2 separate regions of the Homo sapiens genome follow, and region 1 is linked to region 2. The links are contacts of gene promoters, found by promoter capture Hi-C in blood cells and fetal thymus (Javierre and others, 2016). All regions are on one chromosome and are shown on one strand. Each heading gives the region's core, a stretch centred on a gene start or on the middle of the fragment in contact. The rest is flanking DNA. Distances are from core to core; before and after follow the strand shown. Region 1 has its middle 190 kb from the start of LYPLAL1. Region 2 holds the start of TGFB2 (transforming growth factor beta 2).

What was found. Contacts are between HindIII fragments. The CHiCAGO score rates a contact against its expected background, and 5 or more counts as called.
Region 1: a fragment that was not itself captured here is called in contact with the fragment with the promoter of TGFB2 in region 2 in 4 of 17 cell types (non-activated CD4 T cells, naive CD4 T cells, total CD4 T cells and 1 more); the score reaches 7.0 in non-activated CD4 T cells.

What each region holds. Positions count from the first base shown.
Region 1 is chr1:219,360,831-219,364,770 of GRCh38, forward strand. It overlaps a transcript of LYPLAL1 not described here. Among named protein-coding and RNA genes, the nearest start is that of LYPLAL1, 190 kb to the left of the region's middle. The HindIII fragment of the contact is 6,407 bases long and covers 1-3,940 here.
Region 2 is chr1:218,343,084-218,347,258 of GRCh38, forward strand. It overlaps TGFB2 (transforming growth factor beta 2), which reads left to right and starts at 2,253. Exons shown (of 7, transcript NM_003238.6): 1 at 2,253-3,964. The coding sequence starts at 3,619. It overlaps TGFB2-AS1 (TGFB2 antisense RNA 1), which reads right to left and starts at 2,595. Exons shown (of 3, transcript NR_046268.1): 1 at 2,520-2,595; 2 at 2,092-2,305; 3 at 1,113-1,379. RefSeq lists a silencer at 2,181-2,240 and enhancers at 2,621-2,670, 3,802-4,175. The HindIII fragment of the contact is 5,586 bases long and covers 1-4,175 here.

The DNA.
Region 1 (3,940 bases), core at 1,334-3,833, 1.0 Mb after region 2:
ACACACCACTACCAGTATCTGGGTGGACTTCTCTACTGGAGAAGAGCTGCTTCTTACCATGTTCTTTCTGCCTCATCAATAGAAACAAAGCAAAAGTGATTAAAATACAAAATGAGAATTTATAATAAAAAAGAAGGGAAATGTTCTAGTTATGAAGACTCTTTAACACTAAAATCCAAATTTTTCTTTCTTCACACACAACAAAATACTCAAAAAAGACATGTTTCTCTCATAACAGCTTGTCTTGAGATGTGTGTAAAATGTGTGTTTGCATGTGCACACAGGAGTGTATTATCTGATTCCTACTACAGTGGGAGACCAGCAAAAAGTCTGTTTTGCACAGGTTAACAGAACAAGTTAGAGAACAAGTTGCACAGGTTAGAGAATAAGCTGGTGGGCTATGTATGCCCTATGTTCTTTTACCGAAGGACTGTAAAGATTTGAGCAGAGGTGGGGAATGGACTAGTTGATTCTTTCAGACCTGTTCTAGGTCCCTCATAGTGTAGTTTATCTGTCAGATGTGTTTCCTTTCACTTCAAGAGCCTAACTGGATATAAATATTAAGGTAGATCTTTCTTTCAAACCACCTATTGGAACAGCTATATTTGCTAGGGAGTGTGTGCATCTGTGTTTCAGTTTGCTGCACAACCCAAGCTATTTCTCAGTGTGGAGAGCTCAGAGAATGTAGGAATGTGCTTTACCTTGCACTTTTTTTCTCAGGCTCTAAATCCAGGCTTTGGGCTCCTTCACACTCCACTTAGCCACATATTTTTAAAATATGTGCACAAGAAAGGTTGATCCGATGTCCAAGAAGTCCAAGGAGCTTTTTCAGTGAGGCCTTATTTCTTAGAAACAGGAAAAGTTGCTTTTCAAATAGTAACACACGATGACCTCCAGAAGAAAGGTGTTATTAAGAGAAAATTATTATTCACATTATTCATGACAAAAGTGAGGGGTAAAAGAACTTGAGTCTTAGAGGGATTGAGCTTGGAGAGAACTTCTGATTTTAAAAACATTCTGTTTTGGCAAATGCTGTCTTTCTGTGTCAATTTTTATATTTCTGAGAAGTAAGATCATACCCTTCTAAAACATTTAATCTCTCCTGCATTTGGAAAGATCAGCATGCTTGGCTTTGTCCCCCTGTTTGGGCCAGTTTTCTCAAACCAGCAACATACTGGGGAATACCAAAATTAAATGTTAATCCTCTTGAAAGTTCTCTCTCCTCTGCGTTTTGATAGATTAATAGAATGTTAGGAAGAGGACTCCAAGAACTTTTACTAAATCTTCTTATTCTGACACCCAAAGATGTGAAACAACTTGTCCGAGGTAACCCAGCAAGGAAATGGTGTATAGACCTCTACTCCAAGCCCATTGACTGTGTGATATGGATGAAAATGATATAGACATTTTGGACATAAAGGCAATTAGGCTTCCTATGATTTCTGCCATTTACTAATTGTGTGATCTTAGACAAATAACCTCTTGAAGACCCGTTTGCTCCTTTGTCAAATAGGAATAATAGAGTACTCCTCTCCTTCAGCTGAGAGTTTAAAGTGAGATAACCCATGGAAAGAACTTATCAGAGTTTCTGGAATAGGTTAAGCATTTTAAAACGTGCAAAAGTTGTGTAAATGAAGAACTCAACGATTTCCAAGGTGCAGACAGTATTTCTTATGTTAGTAATAAAGGAAAATAATCTTTAAGCAGAGCCTTGAAGGATAAAGTAAACTTGCCACAGGAGGACAAATGGAAGCAGGAACCCCAGAATGGGGTACGGAAGTGGCAAATCTCAACGTACCTGCAGGAAATGGCAAGTAGTTAGATTTGGACCAAATGAAAGCGGAGTATAGGGAACAATGAAAGCCATGGTTGAAAAGTGATATAGTGTAAGACGTTTGCAGTCCTGGTGAAAAAGCTAAGTTTTATTGTACAAGTAGTGAGTTTTGTTCTATTTTAGTAAGAGGAGTAACACCAAAGTTTTATTTTAGGGAGATCAACCAGTCATACTCAGGAGAGGTTAGAGGAAGGAAACAAACACTAGACTCAGGAAAATTTATTCAAGAGGCTATTGTGATTGCTCAGGCATGAGGTCAGGCAGGAAGGGGATAGATGGATGAATGCAAAAAAAAAAATAACAAAGAAACTTTTTATTGCTATATATGTTTTTCCTTTTAACACACTTCATTGTAGAACTCCGATTGTGCCTACACAATACCACCGTCTTCATTGTTTTTAAAAATCAAAGGCTACACAAACCAAACAAGCCTACCTATGTAAGAATTAAAAACGTGGCCAAAAAGGTTTAAAAATAAAATTTATCCAGCACTATTGTGAGGGGAAGTATTTAAGTAAGTTAATCTTCCAGGTCACTGAAACTGTTGCTAGGAATGTCTATTCCCTGCTTCCTCTCTTTCCTCTTCATAATCAATTATCTACTCTTGCACTGTCTAATAAACCAGCCACTATTTAGCACTTGAAATATGCCTAGTAAACACTAGATTTTGAAGAGTTAATACCAAACACAGTACGTAAAATATTTTATAGATTTTTTATATTGATTAAATGTTGAAATGATAACATTTGGGGATATGGGTTAAATACAACATATTAAAATATTTTCACCATTTTCTTTTACCTTTTTTTGACATAGCTATTAAAAACAGAAAATTATCTATGTAGCTTACATCATATTTGTATTAAACAGTGCTGATCTGCAGAGGAACTTGTAAAACTGTAAACCTGATCATGTTATTTTTGTCCAGTGGCTTTCCATTTTACTTAAAGTAGGTAAAACTTATTCTTCTTCCCAGAACCTAGAAGGCCCTAAATAGACTGATCCTTGTCTACCACTTCAAAGTCATTTTGAACCACTCATTCTCTCATTCACATAATTCTAGCCACACTGACCTGCTGAGGCAGACTCTGATGGTTGGCAACCCAGGCCCAGGCTGCCTTTCTTCTTTACTAGCAAAAGTCTAACTTTCTTCTCATACTCAGTACTCAGTGAAGGTAATATCTGGATATACACAGTTTAGTGGGGAAAATTCTGACTGAAGCAAACTCATCATGGTAATTCCAGGCTCCTGGAAAGTAATTTTCTTAGGCCCTGAAATGTGGTATGATTCTATGCAGTGAGCCACAGGGGAAGTCTGCTGAAGGCTTCTTGAAAAGTTCTCCCACTTAAAAAAGAAAGAAAGAAGCAGAGATAATCTCTTCTTCAGCAAAACATCCCTGTTCTGCATGTGATGACCAGCTAGAACTATTAATTTATCTTGGGACCCTGAGGGGATCTAGCCAAAGGACAAAGATGACAGGCTGAATATGGTGCATGAAATATTGAAAGGACTCCAATTCTTCATAATGTCATTGAACAACGCAATAACCCAAGTCTAGCTCTACTTTCTTAAGTATGATAATCTATGCTCCTTACTGTGTATATGTACATGTGTGTATTTAAATGTGTCGAGTGAGTTGAGTGTTCTGTTACTTGTAGTCAAAATCATCTTAACTCCCAAAATCTGCCTATTTTCCATTTCTCTAATACACTCTGTTTCCTGCATTTTGACCTTTGCGTTCTAGCCTTTGATCTTGAGTTTCCATAGCTGGCTCCTTTGTATCACTCCAGAATATGCCTTTCCTGATTAATCTCTCTAATGTAGCCACTACTCCCCACTCTTTTTCGCATCTTGTTGTTTGTAGTCTCTTCAGAGACTTCATCACTATCCGATCTTGACTTTGTGATTACTTTTTAGTTTGTTTTCCATTAATAGAATGCAAACTCCATAGTGTGGCAGGCACAGAGGAGAGATTCAATAAATATTTTTTGGGGAAATAAACAGATAATCTGAGATTTAAATAAAATAAAGAAATATATCACTTCTGCAGAAGAATCAAACAGTCTGTATTTGGATTTATTAATAAGTGAATTTGTATTGGAATT
Region 2 (4,175 bases), core at 1,003-3,502:
ACCCTCCTGGGCTTTGGGGAAATTAAAGTAGCCTCTTATGAGTAAGTCAGGGGTCTCAGGTCTAAGGAGTTGTTAAGTGAGCAATAGGTACTCAGTAAACTAAGTATTATGAACAAAAGTGTGTATGTCTATGTCAGGAAGAGGGGTGGCCATCAGAATTTATGGCTTGCGCTGTTTTCCTAGAAGTGATGTAAATGAACTTTTGCTACTCTATCCACACTCTAATCTGAATCTACTTAAGGTGCATCAGTGTCTGTACCAAGAAGGTTGTCTATAAACATGAAAGATGCTCACTGGCTTGTGGAAGCTGAACCTGTATCCTCAGCAAAATACAGTGATAGCTAATTCAGGTAACCAGCCATATTCCACAGCAGCATCTTCTCTCAGTAGCTCTGGTTTGGAGCTCCTGCTCTGTGTCTATAATGGCCACAGGTGTAAGAATATTCACTTTTTGTCCAATCTGTAGAGCTAGCCTACTGCAGTTCTCAAACTGAACTCAGAGGGAGGACCTAACTGGATGAAACTACTAGTCTGACAGTAGCGCCTCTTGATTATCTTTTTCTTGGGCTACTGGGATGGTAGCTTTGCTTCAACTCAAAACTGGTATCAAGGAAAGGAACCTGCTGGTGCTGATTTATACATAATTTTTAGAATTATTCAGAAGTGGGTTGGAACAATTATTTTATTCCAGAGTTTTTCAATGTGTGATAATGGAAAAAATTCTGTATTCAAGGGAGTTTGGAAAATGCTGGGTTAAAAGAGTGAAAAGGTTTTCTCTTCTACAGGAGTTTCAGAGCCTTTAACATGATAATGTTCCAGAATGAGGAATCTAAGAGGACAGGAGAGTACCCAGTATCTCCCAAACTTGTTTGACTCCAGAATTCCTGTTTGTCAGAACATATTCTGGGACCATTGTTTCTCAGAAGTACATAGTAGGTAAGAACATAGTGGATCCTGACTGCAAAAATCCAGCTCTACCACTTACTGTGGTCTCGAACAAAGTACTTAACTTCTTTGTACCTCAGTCTCCTCATCTGCCAGATATGGATAATAAGACCCACTTTATAGGTTCATAGTGAAGATTAAATGACCATACACAACACACATCAAATTACTAAGTGTAGTATATGTTAGCTATTATTATTTTATTTATTCAGTGCTCTACTAATAACCTAGGCCCCATACACAACTGAAGTATAAATTCCAAAAGTGATAGAAAGTTCTTTGTGACTTTTCTGAACTCAGGAACATCTGAAGTAGAGAACAGTATAGAGATCTTGGGTTTGGGAGTACATTCAACAGAGTTTCCAGTTTAAATCATCTGTCTGGTCAGTATGGCTGCAGAGTCATGCCGAAATGAAAATGTTGACTTTGAGTAACTAAAGGTAAAATAAAAGAAAAAGGGAAGGTGGAACAGTGGTAAGAGTTATTCTTGTATTCATCTAATTTAGACTTAGTTGAAATTGAAAATGTCAAGTTATGAGTAGTGTAGAACAGTAGACATCAAACACTTAAAATTCCAGCTTCCTGGATTAATGCTATGGAAAGAATGAAGTTGGTTGATAATGTTTAGCCTAGCAAGAAGGTGAAGAAGAAAGCCATACAAGAAGTGGCTTAGGCAGCAAATTATAAAGGTGACCATTCATTCAAATCAGTAAAACAAACAAGTATACCTTATTCTTTAGGTAAAATTGATGGATCTCTGTTTTCCAGCAGTTCACAAACAGAGGGGTACATTGTAAACAACAAACTAACAAAATAAATTCTGGGATGGCAACCTGCTAAGGTATCCCAGAAAATAAGAGGTAGGACATGAATTTAAAAGATTGGAAGGTATGTCTTCAGTACTGGCCTGGCCCTGAGTAGACTAGTGCTCCCTCCCATAGGGGTGCGTGTGCACACATAATACAGGAGGGAAGCCTTCCCTTCTAGAGCAAGTGATTCAGCTTGGGAGGCTGTGACTGAGCTACACTAAGTAAAAACGGGAGACTTGATTGTCCTTCCTTCAACAGACCTGTCCAAAATGACTGGAAAGTAAATACCGTAAATCACTGTTGTCAGGGCGCACATTCCACCTCCTTCCTCCCTTACCCACAGCGGTCCTCATTTCCACACTCCCTCAACGGTTCGGGGAGAGCTCGTGGTCTAAGTAACGAGAGGACTTCTGACTGTAATCCTAGCACGTCACTTTGTTGAAGGCAGACACGTGGTTCAGAGAGAACTTATAAATCTCCCCTCCCCGGCAAGATCGTGATGTTATCTGCTGGCAGCAGAAGGTTCGCTCCGAGCGGAGCTCCAGAAGCTCCTGACAAGAGAAAGACAGATTGAGATAGAGATAGAAAGAGAAAGAGAGAAAGAGACAGCAGAGCGAGAGCGCAAGTGAAAGAGGCAGGGGAGGGGGATGGAGAATATTAGCCTGACGGTCTAGGGAGTCATCCAGGAACAAACTGAGGGGCTGCCCGGCTGCAGACAGGAGGAGACAGAGAGGATCTATTTTAGGGTGGCAAGTGCCTACCTACCCTAAGCGAGCAATTCCACGTTGGGGAGAAGCCAGCAGAGGTTGGGAAAGGGTGGGAGTCCAAGGGAGCCCCTGCGCAACCCCCTCAGGAATAAAACTCCCCAGCCAGGGTGTCGCAAGGGCTGCCGTTGTGATCCGCAGGGGGTGAACGCAACCGCGACGGCTGATCGTCTGTGGCTGGGTTGGCGTTTGGAGCAAGAGAAGGAGGAGCAGGAGAAGGAGGGAGCTGGAGGCTGGAAGCGTTTGCAAGCGGCGGCGGCAGCAACGTGGAGTAACCAAGCGGGTCAGCGCGCGCCCGCCAGGGTGTAGGCCACGGAGCGCAGCTCCCAGAGCAGGATCCGCGCCGCCTCAGCAGCCTCTGCGGCCCCTGCGGCACCCGACCGAGTACCGAGCGCCCTGCGAAGCGCACCCTCCTCCCCGCGGTGCGCTGGGCTCGCCCCCAGCGCGCGCACACGCACACACACACACACACACACACACGCACGCACACACGTGTGCGCTTCTCTGCTCCGGAGCTGCTGCTGCTCCTGCTCTCAGCGCCGCAGTGGAAGGCAGGACCGAACCGCTCCTTCTTTAAATATATAAATTTCAGCCCAGGTCAGCCTCGGCGGCCCCCCTCACCGCGCTCCCGGCGCCCCTCCCGTCAGTTCGCCAGCTGCCAGCCCCGGGACCTTTTCATCTCTTCCCTTTTGGCCGGAGGAGCCGAGTTCAGATCCGCCACTCCGCACCCGAGACTGACACACTGAACTCCACTTCCTCCTCTTAAATTTATTTCTACTTAATAGCCACTCGTCTCTTTTTTTCCCCATCTCATTGCTCCAAGAATTTTTTTCTTCTTACTCGCCAAAGTCAGGGTTCCCTCTGCCCGTCCCGTATTAATATTTCCACTTTTGGAACTACTGGCCTTTTCTTTTTAAAGGAATTCAAGCAGGATACGTTTTTCTGTTGGGCATTGACTAGATTGTTTGCAAAAGTTTCGCATCAAAAACAACAACAACAAAAAACCAAACAACTCTCCTTGATCTATACTTTGAGAATTGTTGATTTCTTTTTTTTATTCTGACTTTTAAAAACAACTTTTTTTTCCACTTTTTTAAAAAATGCACTACTGTGTGCTGAGCGCTTTTCTGATCCTGCATCTGGTCACGGTCGCGCTCAGCCTGTCTACCTGCAGCACACTCGATATGGACCAGTTCATGCGCAAGAGGATCGAGGCGATCCGCGGGCAGATCCTGAGCAAGCTGAAGCTCACCAGTCCCCCAGAAGACTATCCTGAGCCCGAGGAAGTCCCCCCGGAGGTGATTTCCATCTACAACAGCACCAGGGACTTGCTCCAGGAGAAGGCGAGCCGGAGGGCGGCCGCCTGCGAGCGCGAGAGGAGCGACGAAGAGTACTACGCCAAGGAGGTTTACAAAATAGACATGCCGCCCTTCTTCCCCTCCGAAAGTAAGTACTTATTTTGACTTCCATCCCCTGAGGTTTAGCTCTGCCCGGAGCTCTCAAAACCGCAGCAGCTCCCGGGATCGCCCTTCCCTCTCGCGGTTCCCGTTCGCTCTTTTCCCGTTCTCCTGTCCTTCACCCCACCACCTCCTTTTCAGTTGTATGCTTGAGGCCATCAGGCTTTAAAATGTTTACTTTCTACTTTATTTTCTCCATC